6 separate regions of the Homo sapiens genome follow, and all the other regions are linked to region 6. Evidence: promoter capture Hi-C in human tissues and cell types (Jung and others, 2019). All regions are on one chromosome and are shown on one strand. Each heading gives the region's core, a stretch centred on a gene start or on the middle of the fragment in contact. The rest is flanking DNA. Distances are from core to core; before and after follow the strand shown.

What was found. The method cuts DNA at HindIII sites, captures the fragments that hold promoters and counts their contacts. A contact is called where the count stands out against the background at its distance.
Region 1: a contact is called between a fragment that was not itself captured here and the fragment with the promoter of TMEM234 in region 6, in 1 of the 25 tissues and cell types used here (hippocampus).
Region 2: a fragment that was not itself captured here is called in contact with the fragment with the promoter of TMEM234 in region 6 in 1 of the 25 tissues and cell types used here (spleen).
Region 3: a contact is called between a fragment that was not itself captured here and the fragment with the promoter of TMEM234 in region 6, in 2 of the 25 tissues and cell types used here (aorta and spleen).
Region 4: a fragment that was not itself captured here is called in contact with the fragment with the promoter of TMEM234 in region 6 in 1 of the 25 tissues and cell types used here (spleen).
Region 5: a contact is called between a fragment that was not itself captured here and the fragment with the promoter of TMEM234 in region 6, in 1 of the 25 tissues and cell types used here (spleen).

The regions. Positions count from the first base shown.
Region 1 is chr1:32,401,698-32,405,994 of GRCh38, reverse strand. It overlaps the pseudogene GAPDHP20. Among named protein-coding and RNA genes, the nearest start is that of BSDC1, 9.4 kb to the right of the region's middle. The HindIII fragment of the contact is 3,514 bases long and covers 1-3,135 here.
Region 2 is chr1:32,030,269-32,034,301 of GRCh38, reverse strand. KHDRBS1 (KH RNA binding domain containing, signal transduction associated 1) reads right to left here. Exons shown (of 9, transcript NM_006559.3): 2 at 3,880-4,004; 3 at 2,662-2,778; 4 at 968-1,114. Among named protein-coding and RNA genes, the nearest start is that of KHDRBS1, 18 kb to the right of the region's middle. The HindIII fragment of the contact is 5,442 bases long and covers 1-4,033 here.
Region 3 is chr1:32,059,514-32,063,724 of GRCh38, reverse strand. It overlaps a transcript of KHDRBS1 not described here. Among named protein-coding and RNA genes, the nearest start is that of TMEM39B, 11 kb to the left of the region's middle. RefSeq lists a silencer at 23-317 and enhancers at 963-1,257, 2,272-2,884. The HindIII fragment of the contact is 6,151 bases long and covers 1-4,211 here.
Region 4 is chr1:32,077,881-32,081,764 of GRCh38, reverse strand. The region is part of intron 5 of TMEM39B (transmembrane protein 39B); the gene reads right to left. Among named protein-coding and RNA genes, the nearest start is that of TMEM39B, 6.9 kb to the right of the region's middle. The HindIII fragment of the contact is 3,244 bases long and covers 210-3,453 here.
Region 5 is chr1:32,424,930-32,428,693 of GRCh38, reverse strand. It overlaps the pseudogene LRRC37A12P. Among named protein-coding and RNA genes, the nearest start is that of BSDC1, 32 kb to the right of the region's middle. The HindIII fragment of the contact is 5,832 bases long and covers 1-3,764 here.
Region 6 is chr1:32,221,103-32,224,977 of GRCh38, reverse strand. TMEM234 (transmembrane protein 234) reads left to right here and starts at 2,625. Exons shown (of 5, transcript NM_019118.5): 1 at 2,625-2,671; 2 at 2,960-3,111; 3 at 3,781-3,847. The coding sequence starts at 2,656. EIF3I (eukaryotic translation initiation factor 3 subunit I) reads right to left here and starts at 2,571. Exons shown (of 11, transcript NM_003757.4): 1 at 2,534-2,571; 2 at 2,348-2,440; 3 at 857-944; 4 at 503-568. The coding sequence starts at 2,536. RefSeq lists enhancers at 2,243-2,876, 2,153-3,352. The HindIII fragment of the contact is 14,812 bases long and covers 1-3,875 here.

The DNA of each region.
Region 1 (4,297 bases), core at 129-2,628, 180 kb before region 6:
GTCTCAAACTCCTGGCCTCAAGCGATCCATCTGCCTCAGCCTCCCAAAGTGCTGCGATTACAGGTGTGAGCCACTGAGCCCAGCCCACAGTGAAACTTTTTGACTCACTCATAAGTTATTTGCTTCTTGACTCTATGACTGTAGGGAGGGGAGGTATGTTAAAAGCTTTTAGTGTCTAAGAGAGAAATGCCTCCATCACGTGACACAAATTTTCAACAAATTGGAAGTTGAAATTGCCACTCAACCTTTTTGAGTATCTCCTGCCACTGAACAGACAGGCCAAAAAAAAAAAAAAAATCAAGATATTTTCTAGAATTTTTTTTTTTTTTTTTTGAGACGGAGTCTCGCTCTGTCGCCCAGGCTGGAGTGCAGTGGCGGGATCTCGGCTCACTGCAAGCTCCGCCTCCCGGGTTCACGCCATTCTCCTGCCTCAGCCTCCCAAGTAGCTGGGACTATAGGCGCCCGCCACTACGCCCGGCTAATTTTTTTGTATTTTTAGTAGAGACGGGGTTTCACCGTTTTAGCCGGGATGGTCTCGATCTCCTGACCTCGCGATCCGCCCACCTCGGCCTCCCAAAGTGCTGGGATTACAGGCGTGAGCCACCACGCCCGGCCATTTTCTAGAATTTTATACTCTAGTTACCAAGCGGAAATAGGTTGTTACCACTGAGTGGAGGCAGGGAGGTTTAGTGATAGACTTTGCTATATTTCCTAAGGATCCTACAACTACTGCAATATTCTGTGATCAAAGTCACGGCAAAACTACTGCAATTCTATACAAAAGGATCTTCTAGGCCACAGATAGCTCAGGAATGAAGGGGTGGGTCTCTCCTGTGGCTAAATAACTTGAACATCTGTTGCTGACTGAAGGCAGATGGAACCTAGAATAGATAGTAAAGAAGGAAAGTCATAAATACAAGATCAGCCTTAGACTGCTTTATATGGGGGGGGGGCGGATTATAGTCTCTACTTGAATTTCTTTCCTTGATGTAGATATTTACATATTTCAAATACTTTTGCTTCTCTTTCTTCTCCCTTTCTGCCACTATCGTCTCTAGGTGGTTTTATAGGGAGATTAACTTCACCATTCAGTGATGGATTGCAGATTCCTAAGCAGGAATTCTGAGAGCCGGAGGACAGTCGTCAAGGCTTTGGATGCCTTCTTTGGAGAGTAATTAAAACAGTGTTTTTAATTACAGAAGTGGTAGCTACTTTATGCTAATTGGGAAGCAAGTCTAAGTTCAAAACACAGAGTATATGTGTTTGGCAGCAAATGGGGAACAGGACAGTTGATGTTCGGGCTATCTGCATCCAAGCCCAGTCTCCCTTTTGGGAAAAAACCCTCACTGTTGTAGTAAGAATATTCCACTTCCCACCTCCCACCTCCCTTACACAGAAGCCAGAGGGAGCTAAATCTTTCCCCACTCCCAGAAATAGCCAAGAAGGAGGCTTATGGTGTGTGAGTCCCAAAAACAATGCTGGAGGTGCCCAGAAGAATATTATTATTGACTGAATGCGGTGGCTCACGCCTGTAAGTTTAGCACTTTGGGAGGCTGAGGCGGGTGGACTGCTTAAGCCCAGGAGTTCAAGATCAGCCTAGGCAACATGGCAAAACCCTGTATCTATAAAAATACAAAAATTAGCCAGATGGTGGCGTGTGCCTGTGGTCCCAGCTACTTGGGAGGCTGAAGTGGGAGGGTGGCTTGAGCCCAGGAGGCAGAGGTTGCATTGAGCCGAGATCGTGCCACTACACTTCAGCCTGGGAGACAGAGTGAGACCCTGTCTTAAAATATATATATATTGCCGGGTGTGATGGCACATGCCATGTGATGCATGTGATGAGTAATCCCAGCCACTCAGGAGGCTGAGGCAGGAGAATCGCTTGAACCCAGGAGGCAGAGTTTGCAGTGAGCCTAGATCGCGCCATTGCACTCCAGCCTGGGCAACAAGAGCAAAACTCCATCTCAAAATATATATATATATAATCTATATAATATATATTACATATTTTGCTATATTTCCTCTGAGCCAGTCCACAGTGCCATCTTTTGGGAACTCTGGTAACAGAGCCACCCTGGAGACAAAGTTCTTCTTTGCTCTTTGGGCTACAATATTCCACCCCTTTGGTTGTTCTAAGAATTCTATGAGACAACAGTGCCTAGCACACAAAGGATGCTCCCCTTTTGTCAATTATAAAGTGATACGTAAATATATGGGAGTCTGGGGAGAACAGGGCTTTGCTCAAAATCACATAGGACATTAGGAGTACAATCAGGACCCGTGTATTCTGGTAAAAGTTTAACAATTGGCTTGGCGGAAGAAGGGGCATGATTTGTATTGTTTGTGGATTTTAATGATTAAACACTCCCACCTTCATCAATTTTAAGGTGCCAATGTGACATCAATCACTGAATGCAGAGTTGAGGAGAGATATCTCCTATTAGGCCGGGCATGCTGGCTCATGCCTGTAATCCCAGCACTTTGGGAGGCCGAGGCAGGTGGATCACCTGAGGTCAGGAGTTCAAGACCAGCCTGACCAACATGGTGAAACTCTGTCTCTACTAAAAATACAAAAAAATTAGCCAGGCATGGTGGCATGCACCTGTAACCCCAGCTACTCGGGAGGGGGAGGCAAAAGAATCGCTTGAACCCGGGAGGCAGAGGTTGCAGTGAACCGAGATAGTGCCACTGCCCTCCAGCCTGGGCAACAAAAGTGAAACTCCGTCTCAAAAAAAAAAAAAAGTACACTATTATATAGTATTTCCACCATATAGATACAATAAATGTAAGTTACTTCAAGAACACAGATGAGCTCTCTGCTCTTGCCATACAACATACAGACACATCTCGTGTAGCACCAGCAGCAGCCTTGAGACATCATGGTGTGAGTGAAGGCCAGAGTAAATAGATGGGACCATATTGGAAGCCTGTTTACCAGGGCTGCTTTTAACTCTAGCAAAGTGGATAGTGTCACCATCTATGACCACTTCATTCAGGTCAACTCCATGGTCTACATGTTCTAGTATGACTCCACCCATGACAAGTTCCAAGGCACCATCAAGGCTAAGAACAAGAAGTTTGTCACCAATGGAAATCCCATCACCATCTTCCAGGAACAAAATCCCATCAAAATCAAATGGGCTGGTCCTGACGCTGATTATGTTATGAAGTCCACTGGCATCTTCACTGCCTTGGAGAAGGCTGGGGCTCACTTAGAGGGTGCAACCAAAAGGGTCATATCTGCTCTCTCTGTTGATGCCCCCATGTTTGTGATGGCCGTGAACCTTGAGAAGTATGAAAACAACCTTGTGATTGTCAGCAACGCTTCCTGTACTGCCAATTGTTTAGCTGCCCTGCCCAAGGTCATCCATGACAACTTTGGCATCATGGAGGGACTCATGGCCACAGTTGGTGCCAATATTGCCACCCAGAAGACTGTGGATGGCCTCTCTGGGAAACTGTGGCGTGATGGCCACAGGACTCTCCAGGACATCATCCCTGCATTTACCCACTCTACCAAGGCTGTGGGCAAGGCCATCCCTGAGCTTAACAGAAAGCCCACTGGCATGGCCTTCCATGTCTCCACTGCCAACATGTGGGTTGTAGACCTGATCTGCCATCTGGAGAGAGCTGCCCAAATATGATGACATCAAGAAGGTGGTGAAACTGGCATCGGAGGCCACCCTCAAGGGCCTCCTGAGCTACACAGAGCACCAGGTTGCCTCCTCCAACTTTAACAGAGACACCCACCTTTTCCACCTTCAATGCTGGGAATGGCATTGCCCTCAAAGACCACTTTGTCAAGCTCATTTCCTGATATGACAATGAATTTGGCTACAGCAACAGAACGATATACCTTATGGTCTACATGGCCTCCTAGGAGTAAGGGCCCTCTGAACCACCAGCCCCAGTGACAGCACGAGAAGAAGAGAGGCCCTCAGCTGCTGGGGAGTCCCTGCCAAACTCAGTCCCCCACCACACTGAGAATCTCCCCCTCCTGAACACTGTTTCCATGCCAGGCTCCCTGAAGAATGGGAGGGGACTATGAGACCGCACTTTGTCATGTACCATCAATAAAGTCCCCTGTACCCAGCCAAAAAAAGTAAAGTGAGCATAAATGATAGTGAAATATATAAAAGTAATTACATAGTGATGAGTTTGGGTTATTTATTACCTTTGTTTTTATTTTATTTATTTATTTTTTAGAAATGAGCTCTTGCTCTGTCACCCAGGCTGGAGTACAATAGTGTAATCATACCTCGCTGTAACCTTGAACTCCTGGGCTCAAGCGATCATC
Region 2 (4,033 bases), core at 641-3,140, 190 kb after region 6:
CGTGAGCCACCGTGCCTGGCCCACACTGCCTATAAATTTTTGCCCTATCAATTTTCACATCATCTGACACCACATTTAGTTCTAATTCCCTCATTTAACATTCAAGAAAACCAAGGACTGTATCTTACCTCCTCCTAGTTTTCTGATGAACACATGACGCTTACTCAATTCTACTTAATAATATTCCAAATCCTTCATAAGTCTCCAGATTCATCCTTGTTATTAAATATTCAACAGTAGTATGTTAACTCTGACAACCACCAGGCCTTGCTAAAAGGCAAAAATAGTACCATTTCCTATTTATTCAAAGTAATATTCCAACCAAGTATTCAAAGGTGGTAACAAGCAAGATAGATAAACTGGCCTGTCCCATCTCTATCTAGTCCTCAGTAATAGTCTGAAAAAAGCTGCTCACCTATCTGTTAAACATCAATAGTCAACCTCTTCCAAACTAAACTCGTCCTCAGCAAACTCCTCCAGGAAAGAAATCCCTGAGTGTGCTCAGGTCAGAATTTAACCCAATAACACTAGATGCTATAAGCTTCTTGCTGCTAGTCTCTACTCTCTACAGCATGAACTTCTTGAGTGCAGAGACCCACCTTAGTCACTTTCCTAACACAATCTCCTTGTTCCACACTACTACCAAAATACTCAGCTAGGTGAAGACCCTGTTAAACCTTAGTTAACCAAATATCAGAATGCAGGCACACTGTGGACCCGAGATACTGACAAGATACCGGTACACAATGAAAACCACATTAGACAAGGAGGGATAGAGTGGCCTTGGAGCATAATGCTTTGAGAACTAGGTGCAAGTAACGAACTACCTAAGGAAAATGAACATAAGTGCAGAATTTGGTATACATACAGGTTATGCAGAGACCTTAGTTAAGAACCCCTACCTTCACAACAGTATAAGATCCCAGTTCTCTTTTGCTCAGAAGACACAGGATATGGATTTCCTTACCGGTACTAGAAATTTCTTGACTTCCTCCATGGCATGGGCCATAAGAGCATAAGCCTCACATGGGGGTCCAAAGACTTCAATGAAGACATGCAGATCCATATTCAAGTGGGCATATTTGGGGTCTCCACCTTTGCGCAGCTCTTCCTCCTATGGAAAAATGCAGAGAAATGTCACACCATGGACTAGGGAGAAAACACCACCTTTACCTCTAAGCCAAAGGAACAGCAAGAAATACCCCTAATGTCCATGAAAAACAGTAAAGTTAATTGGTATGAGCTGAGAAGAATTAAACAAAAAAAGAAAAAAGAAAAAAGAAAAACAGTAAAGTTTAAGAAAGTAAAACAAGCAGCCAGGCGCGGTGGCTCACGCCTATAATCCCAGGACTTTGGGAGACTGACGCGGGAGGATCACAAGGTCAGGAGTTCGAGACCAGTCTGACCAATGTGATGAAGCCCCGTCTCTACTAAAAATACAAAAATTAGCCGGGCATGGTGGCGCACGCCTGTAATCCCAGCTACTCAGGAGGCTGAGGCAGGAGAATTGCTTGAACCCGTGAGGTGGAGGTTGCAGTGAGCCACTGCACTCCAGCCTGGGCAATAGAGCAAGGCTCCCTCTCAAGAAAAAAAAAAAAAGTAAAACAAACTCTCAAGAACAGTAATTTGCACAGCCTGCTAAACTTGCACATGGTCTGCTGCTTACAGTTAATTGTTGTCTTAAATCCCTGAGATATCCATTGGAGCTCCTACTAAAAGCATAAAGAAGAAAAACTTAATTCTAGTCTATTCAGATAATAGCTGTTTGCCAAGCATTTGTTTTTAAATCACAGGTAGAGCTGTTAATCACCACGAGCTCTGCTTATCTGCTTATATGGTCTAGGGAGTGGTAGGGGAAGAAAGAAGTCAGGACAGAGGGAAGAAAAGCTCATGTAAATCTCATTAGTTAGAACACACTTCAGCCGTAACTATATGCATCTAGCAAGAAATGACCTGAGAAAACAAACATGTGTCCATTAGACTACATAAAAGGAGGGTTGAAAGAATTGGTTTTTGGACTGTAGCAGGAATATCTCATCAAATAAGGTGACCCCAGAAGGCTAAGACTATTCTGTTTTGGTGAGAAGTTTCTTGTCACAGAGTACACAGCGTACGCGGCTATGGCATGGGGAAAAAAAAGACGCATTAGATTCTGTAGTCAGGATTACTCATGGTTCCTTTTGGAATACATTCTTTTAGTGAGCCTCACATTCCAAACCGGCTATAAAACAAACCAACTAATCCTCAAACTCATCTGCTCTCACATTATTGTTCTCACTTTTCCAGGTTACAAAAAAGGGGGTGTGCTATTTGCATTTTAGCGTCTTTTGTCTGCTTTAGACTAAATTTTAGTATATTCAGTTCCCCTTTCAAGTTTTCACAGACAATCCTACCAATGCGCAACATGCTACTGCTGTTTCCATTACTACACAGTCAAAAAGTCCAAAAGAAAACTATCACCAGGGCACACCTAGGCTCTTCCAGGGTTGCCAAGCCAAGTAAATTAACTTGGTGTATAATCTCTTGCATCCAGTGCAAACTTAAAGGAGCCACATTCTGTACACATACAAAATTCTTGCCGCCTCTATAAGACATCCATACTGCATTCTGGGCAAGTAGAAGGCATTAGGATGTCCTCTTGCCTCACTAATGTGAGCTTACCTTGGCTTTGTCTCTCATTGAGCCCTTTCCCAATACAGAGATCTTTGCACCAGTCTCTTCCTGCAGTCTTTTGATTGTATTCCCTTGTGGTCCAAGAATCTTCCCCACAAAATTGAACTGACAGAAAATAGAGGATTTCTAAATATACATGCTACTATATAAAAACATTTCCACATAAATTACCTCACTTGATTTTAAACAACCCTGCAAAGGTAGAGTATTACCATTCCCATTTTACTGAAGGACACTGAAGCCATATTAATAAAGTGATTAGCTTAAGGTTATGAAACTAGAAAGTGGCAGTTCCTAGACCTGAATTTGGCTTTTCTGATGTATTCTGGTGCTCTTCCATAATACATTAAGACCTTTACTATTTTATTTTTTACTTTATTTTGAGACAGGCTCTCACTCTGTTGCCCAGGCCAAAGTGTAGTGACACAATCATGGCTCATCACAGCCTCAACTTTCTGGACTCAAGTGATCCTCCTGCCCCAGCCTCCAGAGTAGCTGGGTACAGGTGCACACCACAACACCAGGCTAATTTTTGTATTTTTTGTAGAGATGGGGTTTCGCTATGTTGCTCAGGCTGGTCTTGAACTCCTGGGCTCAAGCAATCTGCCTGCATCGGCCTCCCAAAGTGCTGGCATTACAGGCATGAGCCACTGTGCCTGGCCCAGCACTTAACATACATCAACATTTTTAAGGCAGTGACCTCAGAACAGAAGAGACTATATAGCACCCTTTGATAACACGCTGGATAAACTAAATGTAACTAAATGCTTTCCTAAAAAAAAAAAAAGGAAGAAAAAAAGCATTTACTTAAAAGTAAACTTTTAGTAAGAAAATAAAATTAACTTCAACCAATTGAGGATTCATATTATATTTCCTTTTATTTAGATTTCAGGTTAGTCTTTTGACAAAGAGCAACTCTTCAGGTTTTAATTTTTTTTTCTTTGAACTTGTAGCCTGAGCAATCATTTGAGAAAGAAACTTTTTGATAATAAAAAGATGATTATATTTCCTTCCTGGCTATAGCTATGTTATTAGTTAAGAACTTAGATATTTCAACTCTCAGTAACAGGTACTACAAGCATGAAAGAGAAGCTTCACAGGCTTAAGTTTCTAAAGCATCACAATCCCCAGGAGTCTTTATTATAGCCCATGACTCTCTCATAACTATAAAGATAACTCAAAGATCCAAAGCACTTTTTGCCTTACCTTGGGATACTGCTTGACAGGTATCAGCACTCGCTCTTTCAGTTTCATGTTCTTATGAGAAAATAAATCCAAGTAATTCTCCTCATCATCCTTTTTTGAGTCTCCTTTCTGAATCTTCTCAATTTCTGAATAGGAAAAACAATTTATTTTTGCC
Region 3 (4,211 bases), core at 1,092-3,591, 160 kb after region 6:
TGTGACAAATGGAGCAGATGTTATTAGGAGTTGGAGACACAGATTCTTTTCCTTAGTGTAAACTATCCCCACCTCTCAGGGTGGCCTGAAATTCAGTCTCTCATTTATCTTATTTTTCTGTAATGCACATCTTAACCACCAGAGAGAGCCTGATACAAAGGAATCTCAACTCCAAGTACAACAGAGAAATTAAGCTGGGCATAAGATGTGGAATCCTGGATACAACTGCAGCGATTCTCAATGGTAGGGTAGGGAATGGATCCCAGTGCCTCCTCTATGGGCCTTCTTAGACCCATCCCAAGGAGAGGGGGTGGGGCATGCTGCCACAACCTAGAATTTAGCAGCTAGCCAGATGTAAGGTCACCAGGAAAGAGGTGAGGTGGGTAAGGATGAGGGCCAGATCTAGTTTAGGGACCTGAATTTCTGTATCTCAAGCAAAAGAGACTCTCAACTCTGCTCATAAGCCACCAGGCCCAACTCCTTCCTGGGCTACCCCATGGCAGGCCAGGTCATCTAGCTGGCCCGGGAACTTTAGAAAATTTCTAAAGAGCAGGGGGTGCATCGTGGGGAAGGAGGAAGGGGAGAGAGTGGCATATCTAAGAGCTGTCTTTAGGGTGACATCCACATGGCATCAAGACCTCAGCCTTTAGGTCTATCAGAAAGGGCAGTGGGACCTAGCTTCTCCAATCATGATTCACTAGCCTGGCATCTTACAGCATTTTTACAAAACCTCCTTTGCTTTCTTGGATTTTTGTTACGAATGTTAAAATGAAAGCCTAGGGACATTGAACAATTTACCTGAGGTCGAAGAGCAGCAGCCAAGGGCAGAAGTGGGCCTGTAGGCAATAGGAGTGGCTCTGAGGGGCTGAGGAAAGGGAAGGCAAGCAGGTAGAGCAACAGCCTGCTTGTCAAGCTGCAAGCATTGGCTCTTGGCCAGGCCTCATACCCACTCCTCCAGGGCCAGCTCTGCTGCCAGGCCCCAGGCTGCCAGCCCTACCTCCACACTCCCACCCCAGTCCCCTGAGAGCCCATCACCTTGGCAACAGCCAGAGAAAGGCCCAGCTAAAATATTTATGGCTCAAAACAGCCTAGAGGCTTGGGAGGGGGGAAGAGGGAAAGGCTGATGTCATCCCTTCTCAGCTTACAGGGGAGGTGACTGACATACAGGGCAGCTGGGTGGGTGGGCCAAGCCCAACAAGTCAGGGCTCTCAAAGGAAGATCCCAAGGGCCATAAGTGGTAACAGGAGGAGGACGAAGACTGTGACAGGTGACAGGACTGGATAAGACCCACAAGCCTGGGAAAAAAGGAGGAAGGAAACTTAAAGGTTGAGCAGTATTGTGTCTAGACCCCATGCCAGGCATTTCAAACACATCATTTGCTTCTCAGATCCCATTCAGTACGTAGCAATTCTTTTTTTTTTTTTTTGAGATGGAGTCTTGCTCTGTGGTCCAGGCTGGAGTGCAATGGCGCGATCTCGGCTCACTGCAAGCTCCGCCTCCTGGGTTCACACCATTCTCCTGCCTCGGCCTCCTGAGTAGCTGGGACTAGGGGCGCCCACCACCACGCCCGGCTAATTTTTTGTATTTTTAGTAGAGATGCGGTTTCACCATGTTAGCCAGGATGGTCTCGATCTCCTGACCTCGTGATCTGCCCACCTCGGCCTCCCAAAGTGCTAGGATTACAGGCGTGAGCCACCGCACCTGGCCAGTAGGTAGCAATTCTTATCCTACTTTGATGGAGTAAACAGGCCCTACAGCTCTTCTTAAAGCAAAAAAAAAAAAAAAAAAAAAAAAAAAAATTAAAACAAGCTCTGGAAATATGCAAATGATGAGCTGGGATTTGAATTCAGATCTGTTTGGCTTCAGCCCTGTAAGCTTTCCTATAAAATTCTGTGGCTCCCGAGTAGAAATCCTAGCAGACTGAAGGTATAGCGATCTAGGAACCTAACACCAGCTCCTCAGTCAGTGACTCAGGTTCTGTGCCTCCATTTATATATGATGAAGATGCCATCTGATTCCCTAATTCCCCACCCCAAACTCCTCCCTTGTCAGCCCTGGACTCAGAGCATCCAATGTAAACAACAGGGTGACAAACTCATCGAGGCTGGCCTGTGACTTTTCTAGTTTTAGCACTGGATAGTCCCATATCCCAGAAACTCTCTCTTGGGTAAACCTAGATGATCTGTCATCCTAGACGAACCCCTCATGCAAACATAATGCTTTAATATTTCAAAGCACTTGTGGCTGTGAGAGGTACAAACAGGTCAAAAGAATAGGCCATGAAGTCTGATAGTATAGACCATGAAGTCTTTTTCTAACCATAGGCAAATTTTTTATCCTCCTTGAGTCTCAGTTTTTCTTATTTTCCTGGTACATACTAAGAAATCAGTAAATTATTAGCTGTTATTTACAGTAATCAACAATGATGACAGAAACAGGCTCAGAGATTAAATAGCTTGCCCAGTGTAAATCAACTGACTTTAAGGAATCCCTTTCCATTATACTTCTGTTCCTGCTAAGGATGAATCCAAGCTCACTAGAATGCCCCAGGCACAGTTAAAATGCAGATAGGCTCTATTCTCTCCCTAAACTCAGTCCTTCCCCTTGTTCCTTTGTTAGGATAAATAACCAGAAGGCATTAGGGAAGAGTACAGTATCAGAGGTCCCTAGCCTCTCAGGAAGCTGAGTATAAATCAACCTAGAAATAGGCCAGAGGAAACCAGAAGCCTATCAAAGGCTGACTTTCCAATCCTTCAAGGGAAAATGGCAGAACAAATAGCTGGCCTAGTATAGCTGGAAGGAAAGTGAGAGCTAAACAAGGGGGCTTTGGCTCTCTCCCAAAGCTGATAGAAGCTACCAGAGTGGGACCATTCATCACTTGACCAAACCTTTATTGAGGTCCTCAGGGGCAGATATTTGTTGGGGAGAAATATAGTACAGAGGTGGAACAGAAAAAGCCCTACCCTTTATGACCTTTTTGGACAAGGTAAGTAATAAACAATGAAGAGAAAAACAGGTTCAGATGTTAAATAACTTGCCCAAATTAATTGAATCTTCTCACTTGGCTTTCCTCAGCCTTTTATGGAAGGGCAGTGATCACCCTCCCTTGGGAGCCCTCTGGAAGGGTTCAAGGACTCACAGGCTGACACCCATAACACAGGTGTGGTAGTGGGGAAACAGAAAACGGTGGTAGGGTGTTTCAGCCAATTCTATGGGAGGCTAAAGGGAAGCACACATACTGGGAATGGCACAGTAGGAGTTGCCAGTTAATTCCCATCTAGGAGGCCATGCTAGGGATACCCATTAGTCCCCTTCAACTCTTTAAAGTCTTGAACAGTTTAATTGTTAGCACCACAGTCCCCTGCAGCCCTGAGGACTCCATTCTGGGCCTAAAGACTCTTAAGGGATCCTGACTGGCTTTCTGTGGGTAAATCTGACAGATCAAGTAGAGTGAAAGAAAACTGCTGATCTCCTCTCCTGGGTTTCTCTGTGTTCAGCAAATGCCCTCAGGCCAGCCTTTATACAGCAGGTAGCTCTCCAGGTTTCAGGAGTCCTCTGATAGCTGCAAAGACACAAGGTAGAAAATTAAGAAAGCTCCCTATTAGGGGGCTTCCCAGCCTCCCACCTGACCAGGATGCTTCCCTCACAATTGCCCCATCCCACAGCACAACTCTACTTGTTTCATTCAGTACACAAGTTTCTTGGGTACACAGATGGGTAGAAAACAGAAGTCCACAGCCTATGAATTCTCTTTTTACTGTCTGTCTGGTAATGAAAATGCAGTCTCACGCTCAATATCTCCTGTCCTTGGCCATATCTCAGCTGAGTGGATCCAGGGAAGAATCAACAAAACCTTTGGGGGGCCTATCCAAGCTTTGAAGCCTCTATAAACAAAGGGAAAAATGCTTTCTGCTGTCCTAGAAATGTGAAAAAGATGAACAAAAATCTTTAAAGTCTTTTGAAGAATGGAAATCAGAAAATAGGCATCTTATTATCACTATTATTGGTAACTCAATGTTAGGCTCAAGGGGCGATGGATGTTATGAAGGATTCATCCCAGCACCAAATACTCAGGGTGGACTAGAGGAGACGCATCTTAAATCTGCGGCACAGGGAAGGGGCTTGATCTCATGCTAAAACCTATAGCAATGCTCCTTCTTCTTCTTCTTCTTTTTTTTTTTTTTAAAGAAAGAGTCTTGCTTTGTCACTCA
Region 4 (3,884 bases), core at 582-3,081, 140 kb after region 6:
ATAATTTTCTTTTTTTTGAGACAGAGTCTCACTCTATTGCCCAGGCTGGAGTGCAGTGGTGCAAACTCAGCTCGCTGCAACCTCCACCTCCCAGTTTCAAGCAATTCTCCTGCCTCAGCCTCCCAAGTAGCTGGGACTACAGGCGTGCACCACCACACCTGGCTAATTTTTGTATTTTTAGTAGAGAAAGGGTTTCACCATGATGGCCAGGCTGGTCTTGAACTCCTGACCTCAAGTGATCCATTCACCTTGGCCTTCCAAAGTGCTGGGATTACAAGCGTGAGCCACCACGCTTGGCCAATAAATAAATTTTTAAAAAGAATAAGCAGGCTAGGTACAGTGGCTGATGCCTGTAGTTCCAACTACTCAGAAGGCTGAAGTGGGAGGACGGCTTGAGCCTGGGAGGCAGAGGTTGCAGTGAGCCGAGATTGCACCACTGCACTCCAGCCTGGGCAACAGAGCCAGACCCTGACTCAGGGTCTTGTCACTCAGGCTGGAGTGCAGTGCCACTTTAGAACTGGATAATAGGTTTACAGACTCTGTCTGTAAACAAACAAACAAACAAACAAACAAATAAAAAAACCCAGAAAGTAAAAGAGACTGCTATTGAAGAGTGGGACTAAAAATCTGGAGGCGGGATTGGAGACTAATGTTTTTCTATGAAGAGTGGGACTAAAAATCTGGAGGCGGGATTGGAGACTAATGTTTTTCTATTTATTTATTTATTTATTTTTAGAGACAGGGTCTCACTCTGTTGTCCACGCTGAAGTGCACTGGTGTGATCATGGCTCACTTCGGCCTCAAATCCACCAGCTAAAGCAATCTTCTCACCTCAGCCTCCCAAGTCACTGAGATCACAGGCATGAGCTACCGTGCCCAGCAATGGTTTTCATTATAAGCTTTTCAGCACTATTGGATTTAATTTTTTACAATATGTTTATATTTGGTCAATAAACATTTTTAAATTAAATAATGAAAAATAAAGCATAATATGACATTGGGTGTTATCTGCATCCATGAAGAAAAGATTCACCAGGTAGTAACCATAAACTGTCAAATTAAGGCAACTCTTTTTTTTTTTTTTTTTTTTGAGACAGAGTCTCACTCTGTTGCCCAGGCTGGAGTGCAGTGGTGCAGTGGTGCGATCTTGGCTCACTGCAAGCTCCGCCTCCCAGGTTCACACCATTCTCCTGCCTCAGCCTCCCGAGTAGCTGGGACTGCAAGTGCCATCCACCATGCCCGGCTAGTTTTTTGTATTTTTTTAGTAGAGACGGGGTTTCACTGTGTTAGCCAGGATGGTCTCAATCTCCTGACCTCGTGATCCACCCGCCTCAGCCTCCCAAAGTGCTGGGATTACAGGCATGAGCCACCGCGTCCGACAGGCAACTCTTAAGTTCTAACCAGTGCAACCCTTTCGAAGGACAATTTGTTAATAACTATGAAAAATCTAAATGAATCCATCTTTTGGTGTAGTTAATTCTTCTGGGAATCTACTGTGCAGAGATACTGGACACATATGCAATTATTCATTGTTATGAATAAGGAAAAGCTAGAAACAACTTAAAAGTTTGCCAGTAGGCCAGGCACGGTGGCTCACGCCTGTAATCACAGCACTTTGGGAGACCAAGGTGGGCGGATCACGAGGTCAGGAGATCGAGACCATCCTGGCTAACACGGTGAAACCCCATCTCTACTAAGAATACAAAAAATTGCCGAGCATGGTGGCTCATGTCTGTAATCCCAGCACTTTGGGAGGCCAAGGCAGGCGGATCACCTGAGACCAGCCTGACCAACATGGAGAAACCCCATCTCTACTAGAAATACAAAATTAGCTGGGCTTGGTGGAGCATGCCTGTAGTCTCAGCTACTTGGGAGGCTGAGGCAGGAGAACTGCTTGAACCCGGGAGTTGGAGGCTGCAGTGAGCCAAGATTGCACCACTGCACTCCAGCCTGGGCAACAGAGCAAGACTCCATCTCAGAAAAAAAAAAAAATTGCCAATAGAAGACAAATAAATTGTGAAAATTCTATAACATAGAATACTGCGAGGCCATTAAAAAAATGAGGCAGCAGGTCATGATGGCGCATGCCCATAGTCCCAGCTACTCAGAAGGCTGAGGTGGGAGGATTGCTTGAGCCGAGGAATTCTATGCTATAATGTGCTATGCCGATGAGGTGCCTGCATAGAAGTTCAGCATCCATATGGTGAACTCCTGGGAGTGGGGGACCACATAATTGCCTAAGGAGGGGATGAACTGGTCCAGGTTAGAAATAGAACAGGTTGGCCAGGCGCGGTGGCTCATGCCTGTAATCCCAGCACTTTGGGAGGCCGAGGCGGGCAGATCATGAGGTCAGGAGATTGAGACCATCCTGGCTAACACGGTGAAACCCTGTCTCTACTAAAAATACAAAAAATTAGCTAGGTGTGGTGGCAGGCGCCTGTAGTCCCAGCTACTCAGGAGGCTGAGGCAGGAGAATGGTGTGAACCCGGGAGGTGGAGCTTGCAGTGAGCCAAGATTGTGCCACTGCACTCCAGCCTGGGCGACAGAGCGAGACTCCATCTCAAAAAAAAAAAAAAAAAGAAAGAAATAGAACAGGTTAAAACTCCTGTGTTGATCAGTAGTGGGAACAGACCTGTGAATAGCCACTGCACTCCAGCCTGGGCAATACAGCAAGACCCTCATCTCTAAAATAAAATAAAATAATGAGACAGACCCGTATGTATTGGCATAGAAAAATATCTGTTATATGATTAAGTGAAAAGTGTGGTAAATTGTACATCATGCATAGCATAATACCATTTTTCTTTTTTAAAAAACTGCATGTGGCCAGGCACAGTGGCTCACATCTGTAATCCCAGCACTTTGGGAGGACAAGGTGGGCAGATCACTTGAGGCCAGGAGTTCGAGACCAGCCTGGCCAACATGATGAAACCCCAACTCTACTAAAAATACAAAAAGTAGCCAGGCGTGGTGGTGGGCACCTGTAATCCCAGTTACTTGGGAGGCTGAGGCAGGAAAATTGCTTGAATCCAGGAGGCAGAGGTTGCAGTGAGCCGAGATCGTGCCACTGCACTCCAGCCCGGGTGACATCAGACTGTCTCAAGAACAAACAAACAAAAAAACTGCATGTGTGTGTACTTGCACAGAAAATATTTTGGGAAAATTGCTGCCAGTAATGGATTTCTGGGGGAATAAGACTATGTGGGACTTTCTTTTTCCATGTTAAAAGCTTCTGTAAAGTTTAATGTTTTTATAAGACATTATAATGTTTTTTTTTTTTAAAGACAGGACCTCACTCCAGTTGCTTAAGCTAGAGTACAGTGGCACAATTTCGGCTCACTGCAGCCTCGACCTCCTGAGCTCAGGTGATTCTCCCACCTCAGCTTCCTGAGTAGCTGGGACTATAGGCGTGCCTCACCACACCTGGCTAGTTTTTTATGTTTTTAGTAGACAGGATTTCGCCATGTTGCCTAGGCTGGTCTCAAACCCCTGGACTCAAGCAATCTGCCTGTCTTGGCCTCCAAAGTGCTGGGATTACAGGTTTGTGCTACTGTGCCTGGCCACATGTCACTCTTATAATTAAAAAGTAGATATAACTGAAGGAAGTGTGACAGGGCTCCCATGCCAGTGCCTTTTTGGACATGCAGGGTAGAAAGGGGGAGGTGCCAGCTCTGAAGCTTCCCAGAGACCAGGATTGACCCAGCTTGAGGAATTTTGTGAACCAGAAAACCTGGGGGTTGGGAAACGACTGTTAATGCTCAGGCAGCCAGCAGCCTGCCCCAGAAGCAGCCAGATCCAACACCTCACCAAAGTTCTCCCTGATGCAAGGCGAGAAATGGGCAGTCCTGGGCACATCCCCGAAACAGTCTCTCCATCCTCAACAA
Region 5 (3,764 bases), core at 767-3,266, 200 kb before region 6:
TTGAGCAGACAAGGTCACATGAGCAAGAGAGGGCTTAATAATGGAGCTAACCAGTTCCACAAAGAAGACTGGAATTCATTAAAGAGGGATTGTAGCCATCCAGGGCTGGAACCTGCATTTTCTCTTGACCTGTCAATGATTTTTACTTGATCTTTAAGCATCTGTAAGTTTTCTTCTACTTGACTAAAGGTGTTTATCCAGAAGCAGCATGTTTCATTTAAGACTGCACAGGTACCCCACCTTTGCTGTAAGGACATCGAGGGCCAGTCGATGGCTAAAGAGTCTATGGATTGTTGTGCTTCCACAGCTCCTAATGTTGCCTTCCATCCTCGTTGCATCATAATGGAAACATTAAATGCTGACCTTTCAAGGAGAGGAATACCAGCAAACCGGAAGAGGCCTCTGGTTATGGAATTCCCCATCCATGGTCCTTCTAAGATGAGATTGTCATGTGTGTGCCCTCCCAATCTTCTCTTTCAGTTAAACCTCTACATGAGGGCATGGAAATGATAGGTCTCTTTGCTCAGCGTATTCAAGATAGTGCACTTTTTTTTTGAGAATTACAATAGGTACCTTTTATTGAAAGCTCACTGTTTGCAAAGCAGTGTACATTCATTATCAAATTAAATCATCAAAAAACCCTAAAAAGTAGGTGTCAGTATCACCTGCACTTTGTGATTGTGCCAGACAATGAGTAATAAAATAGGTAAGAATGGCTGTGGGTGAAGCCAGCTGAGTTCTCGTTATAGTCGCATTTCAGGAAATTATTTAACATGCTGACTTTAACAACCTAAGCGTCTTCTCCATGTGTGCACATAGGGTAGACCTCTGAGAGTGGCGCTGTAGCTTCTAGGGTAAAGGCTGTGTTAAGTCAAGGCAGGATGACATTTTGGCCTCCTCCCAGGCTAGTGCAAAGGGCTGTTCACTCGCATTAAGGCCTTCTCTCTCAGACTGAATTGCCCACACCCCAAAACCTGTCCTACAGAAAATTTGCAGTCCTCGCTTGTTGCCTGGCAGCCCGTACCTAATAGGGCGGTGAATTAATTATCAAACATGCAACAAAGGGTATCGAAAGTTTAGCGAAAATGGCAACATTTTGGAATAAATGACCATAATGTGTGTTCTGCCTGCCACCCTAACTGGCGCAGATTTTGCAGGTCAGTTGTTTTCCCTGGAAGCCGTATTGGCCAAGAGGAGGAAGATTATCTCTCGGATTTCAGCTTGGAGGAGAAAGAATTCAGGCTGCCAGAACTGGACTAGCACCTCTGAATATCCCGAGGTGAGGTCCCGTGACTTCCTTGGGAAGCTCTGCCGCGCCTGCACCCCACCCCACCCAACCCTACACCACCACCACCACCACCACCACCACCACCACCACAATAGGCTGCTGGAGTCTTGGGACCACCAAGGTCTGCTGCCCAAATCCTTCCTCGCTTAGGGGAGGGGAGGAGTGTTCCTGCGGGGCGGGGCGAGAAGGGAGGCTTGGGCAGGATTGTGGGATGAGATCGCCCTGGTGACGCGGAGCGGATCTAGACCTCACCTAATAAAATTTGCTTATAAAGGAGGGGGCGGTGCCCACGGTTGCTAGGGGCGCTAGCGTCTTGGGGCTGCCAGAATGGCTCCAGCTCTGTGCGCGGCGCCAGCGCATGTCACGTCCCGGCTGTGCCTCTGGCTCCCACGACCCCCTCCTCACGTAGCAACTATTGTGGCTACTCGTCCAGGCGGCTCAGCCTCTGGAGTGGGTCCAGGACCCGCTGCAGCTGATCTCCGATGCCCTGTGGCCGATGAGCCCTTGTTTTCCCGCTCCTCTGATCTCCCACCCGAATCGCCCCCATGCGCTTACCCTCCCCCCACCACGCAGACCCGGGGCCTTTGAATACCTGGGGTCCTCTGCTTCCTCCCAGATGTCAGCTCTGCCTCAGGAATCGACTGAGACTTTCACCAAGACTTTGGTTCCATTCCTGGACACGGATACAGCTGGAGAGCTGCCCCCGTGGCCAGAGCAGTTCGTTGCTGCACACCAGGATCTGAATGACAAGCTGACTCGGCAAGAAAGGCTCCCAGAGGTGGTCCCAATGCTGGACTGGGATCAGAACCAGGCCCTAGCTCGGACTCTTTGCCTCAAAAGTAAGGTTAAAACTGCAAATCTAGATCAGGCTGCAGATCATCAGGCATATGAAATACTTGTTCTACCTCTGGATAGAATTCACAAGCAACGAAGCTTATTGTTTGGCCCAAGAACCTGAAGAAAGGTCTAGCTTAGCATCGGAGGCTTGCTAAGGTTGTGGCTGGAACTCCACACCGATTTGTATAAAAACCTCAGCGTCAGAAACAAACTTTGCAGGATATTTAGATGGAAGTATGGATATACTGTATCCAGGCACCCTGTCCCCAGAACTCCAGGTGAACTCAGACGAGCCTCCAGGGCCCCCTGAGCAAGTTGGACTTTTTCAATTTCACCTAGAGCCCGAAACTCAAAATCCAGAGACCTTGAAGAGATCCAGTCCTCTTCACTCCAGCAAGAAGCCCCAGAGCAGCTTCCACAGCTCCCTGGGGAGGTAGAACCTTCTTCAACCCAGCAGGAGGCCCCAGCTCTGCCTTCACAGTCCCTTGAGAGGGTCTATTCTACTTCAACAGAGCAGGAGGCCCCAGCATAGCAGCTACCTGCCTCCGAAGAGATTGTAGCTCAGCCATCAATACATCATGAGGTAAATGTTCTATTTAGAAGTTGGAGTGAAGCAGCTAGGCGCGATGGCTCCTGCCCGTAATCCCAGCATGGGAGGCTGAGGTGGGCAGATCACAAGGTCAGGAGTTCGAGACCAACCTGGCCAAGAGACCAGCCTGGCCAGTATGGTGAAACCCCATCTCTACTAAAAATACAAAATTAGCCAGGCGTGGCGGCAGGCGCCTGTAATCCCAGCTACTTAGGAGTCTGAGGCAGGAGAATTGCTTGAACCCGGGAGGCAGAGGTTGCAGTGAGCTGAGATCACGCCACTGCACTCCAGCCTGGGCAACAGAGCAAGACTCCGTCTCAAAAAGAAAAAAAAAAAAGTTGGAGTGAAGCTCAGCACTCACACTTGCCCAGTGTCACAGTCAAACCTGTGGATGTGGAGCTTACAGTAACTCCAGAGCCAGGTAAGGAACTTACGTCAAGCCAGGAACAGGCCGCAGCTCAGCCTCCAGAGCACCCTGAGGAGGTGGACTCTTCCTCAACCCAATTAGAGGACCCAGCTCAGACACCAGAGCACCCTGAGGAGACGAAACCTTCTGCAACCCACCAAGGGACCCCAGCTGAGCCTCCAGGTCCTCCTGTGGAGGCTGAACTTTCCCCCAGTGAGCAGGAGAAGCCAGCTCAGCATTCTGAATTTCCTGGGGAGGTGAACTTTCTCAGACCCAGCAGGAGGCCCCAGCTCAGCCTCCAGAGTCCTCTGTGGAGAGTGCAGCTCAAACTCCACCGAATCATGAGGTGACACTTCACCCTCTTGGTGAGGATCAAGCTCATTATAACTTGCCCACTGTTACAGTTAAACCTGTGGATGCAGAGCTTATTATAACCTCAGAGCCTACCAAGGAGACTGAATCTTCTCCAGCCCAGCAGCAGGCCCCAACCCAGTCTCCAGAGGAGGTAGAACCTTCTGCAACCCAAAAGGAGGCCCCAGCTGAGCCTCCAGGTCCTCCTGTGGAGCCTGAACCTTCTCCAGAGAGCAGGAGCAGCCAGCTCAGCCTTCTGAGTCTTCTGGAGAGGTTGAACCTTCTCCCGCCCA
Region 6 (3,875 bases), core at 1,376-3,875:
TCTGTAATCCCAGCTATTTGGGAGGCTGAGGCAGGAGAATCACTTGAACCTGGGAGGCGGAGGTTGCAGTAAGCCAAGATTGTGCCACTGCACTCCAGCCTGGGTGACACAGCGAGAGAATCTGTCTCAAAAAAAAAAATCAGCCAAGCATGGTGGCGTGCGCCTATAATCCCAGCTACTGGGGCTGGCTGAGACAGGAGAATCCCTTGAACCCGGGAGACAGAGGTTGCAGTGAGCCGAGATAGTGCCATTGCTCTCCAGCCTGGGTGACAGTGAGACTCTGTCTCCAAAATAAGAAAAAGAAAAAAAAAAAAAAAAAGAAAACTTAATCTATGCTTCCTCTACCATGGCGTGTATTTTCTCATCTATCTTTCTTGTCTCTTATTCCCTAGACTGGAAACTATCTATGGATTTCATCTCTATTTTCCTAGGACCTGTTTACTCAAACAGGTACACTGTAGGTCCTCAATATTTGCTAAAAAGGTGAATGAACCCAGCTTACCTGTTTCACAGTCCCAGAGACGACAGCTGTTGTCAGCTGAGCCAGTGAGGACATGCTTGGTGTCCCCTGAAGAGTTGTTAAGAAATATGACGAAGTTCACCCGAGCCCTTGTCCTCTTGGGATGCCAAGTGAATCATCTCCCTGTTCAGCCCCAAAGAGCCTTTCTACCCCTCTTACCTCCTTATCCAGAACTGGAATTTGTCCTGAATGTTTCCTCAGTCAGTGAAGAGACCAGGGAGTAGGAGGTATCGTTCTCTAGGCCCTCAACAGCACCCCCAACTCCCAACTCCCAACTCAGCCTCTCCATCGCTGACAGACCCTAGCAACACGGACTCAGACCCAAAATAAGGATACAGTCAGCGTCCACACACCACACAGCTCCGGTATGGCCCATGTAGGTGCCCAGCCTCTCACCATTCACAGAGTACCATACATTGACGATCTGGAAAAGTCAAACCACAGGATAGTACACATCCCAGTAAGAGCAATGGCTTCCTATTTTGCCCCAGGAACCCTCAGCAGCCTGTAGCAAGGCTGATTCTGCCCTCTTCTGTTTATTTCTTGGGAAACAGCAGGGAGCTGGTAAAAAGACCAACTCCTGGATTCTCCTCCCTTCCTGAAGGGAAGCAACAGAGGAGTCAGGCGGCTTGTAAAGGCATCCTCATTTGTTAGCTCCAGCTCTCCTGGGACTCCCAACGGCTCCAAAGAATAAAAGGCCAAGTTGAGCTCCAGTCCAGAAAAACAGTATCTCTGATGTCTTATCCAAGTGGGAGCAGCTGGTAGTAAGGAAGTCTGGGTTCTGGTGCCTGCTCTGCCACTGTCTCACTATATGATCTCAAATACAGTGCTTCTCTCCTCTGAACTTCAGTTTTCTCATCTTGAAAATGGCCAGGCCGGGTGTGGTGACTCATGCCTGTAATCCTAGCACTTTGGGAGGCCGAGGCAGGCGGATCACCTGAGGTCAGGAGTTCAAGACAAGCCTGTCCAACATGGTGAAACCCCATCTCTACTAAAGATACAAAAAATTAGCTGGGCATGGTGGCACGAGCCTGTAGTCCCAGCTACTAGGGAGGTTGAGGCAGGAGAATCGCTTGAACCTGGGAGGCAGAGGTTGCAGTGAGTCGAGATCGCGCCACTGCACTCCAGCCTAGGCGACAGAGCGAGACTCCGTCTCAAGAAAAAATAAAATAAAATGGCCAGGTGCCTCAAAAGGCAGTATCATGAGGGATTGTTTGGCATTGAGTAGCAGGATGGGATTGACTTAAAATGAGACTAGAGACACCCTCATTAAGTTCCCTGTGTCTGAATAACACAGCCTGCACCTATCCTGGTAGAAAGATTAGATTATCCCTAAAGGTCGCATCCCGTTCTCTGGGCAAGCTGACCCTCATCTTTATCCCCTTTCCACAGTGGTCTCTTGCTTTTCTTGGAGTGCAGTGGCACGATCTCAGCTCACCGCGCTCAAGCGATCCTCTCGTTTCAGACTCCGAAGTAGCTGAGACCACAGGCGCGAGGCCACCATGTCAGGCTAATTTTTTTGTGTGTAGAGATGGGTCTTACTACGTTGCTCAGGCTGGTCTCCAACTCCTGGGCTCAAGCGACCCTCCCACCTCGGCCTCTCAAAGTGCTGGGATTACAGGCGTGAGCCACCGCACTCGGCCAATAGAGTTCTTCCCCACCTTTCCCGGTAGAATACTTTCGCCAACCTACCCCCGGCATGGCCTCTCCCTACTTCTCACAATGGGCTGCTCTTTGGTTCCCCGCTAACGGCAAAACTGGCGTGTCCACCCATCGTCCTGGCAGAAGGATCCCGCCCCTCCCGGACCCCCTCCAGCCAACACTCACAGGGTCCTTGGCCACAGTAAAGAGGAGGTCTCCTTCGCGGTTATACTTAATCTGCGTAATGGACCGCTCATGGCCCTGCAGTAGGATCGGCTTCTGTGGGGACAAGACAGTAACGTCAGTGCTCGGAATTGGGCCCCAGCCTCAGCCCAGGACCCCCACTGCAATACCCCTAACTCTGAAACTCACCATCCCGGCTGTGACGCGAGGAAGGCCGCAACGTGAGTAAGACCGGAAAAGGTTTCGAGGTCACTTCCGGATTATGGGTCTCCGCCCCTTCGTTCCCGGAAGTAGAAGACAGCGGCGTTGCCATGGCGGCGTCTCTGGGTAGGTAGCCGGCCCCGCCCTTCCATGGATTTCCCGACCCTCGCCTCGAATTCATTTCCTGCTCCACATCCACCCTCTAACCCCGACCCCTGCTACAACCCCAGAGGCCGGACTCCTGGATTCATCTCCCTAGCTTCCCTGGGCCTGCCTTAGCCGCCAGTCGCAGCCGAGGCGAAGAGAGCGAAGGAGGGAAGTGGGGGCGGCTAGCTGGGGCTAGAAGGCCAGGAGAGGGCGGGGTGGGCGGCCGTTTGGGGTGGGGGTCAGGGTGACTCACTCGTCTGCATTCAGGGCAGGTGTTGGCTCTGGTGCTGGTGGCCGCTCTGTGGGGTGGCACGCAGCCGCTGCTGAAGCGGGCCTCCGCCGGCCTGCAGCGGGTTCATGAGCCGACCTGGGCCCAGCAGTTGCTACAGGAGATGAAGACCCTCTTCTTGAATACTGAGGTGCGTCTCTGTGAAAGGCCCCTCTCTCGGTGGAGTTGCCGCCAAGAATTTGGTCTTTGGAGTCAAACAGGTCTGGGTCAGCCCCACCACTTACTCACTAGAAATTCTCGGAAAAGTCAGTTGTCCTTGAGCCTCAGTTTCATCATCTGTAAATGGCGATTATAATAATAACCATCTGATAGGTCAGTTGCAGGAATTAGGTGAGATACGTAGAGCACTTAGCATTAGGCCTAGAACATAGTAAGTGCTCAATCTATGGCTGCCATTATTCACATTTTATTGTGATTCCTTCAGTTACATAAGGCAACATTTGTGAGCCTTTCCAGAGGGAGGGCTTGGGGCTCAAATTGGCCCTGCAGGGGAGGAGTTCAGAGGAGGAAGGCTGGAGCTGGAGGACTTGGGGAAGGCTTCCTGGAGGGGCTGACATTGGCTTCAAGGCCTTGCAGGATGGGAACTAGCAGAGGTGAGGGAGAGGGTAGTTTGAGCAAAGGCACAGACTTCAGTCTGTTTCCCTCTTTGCCCTGGAAGGATCCTCCTTAGAGGGATTAGTGTTCTCTGGGTCCTTATAACCCTGCCTCCCTCCAAGGAAAGACATTCGCTAGGAGCTCAAAGAAGGCAGTGCTGCTCAGTCAGGCCATCACACTGACTGCAGGTTTCTCCTCTTTCCAGTACCTGATGCCCTTTCTCCTCAACCAGTGTGGATCCCTTCTCTATTACCTCACCTTGGCATCGACAGGTGGGTCCTGGCTTGGAACTGTTCTGCT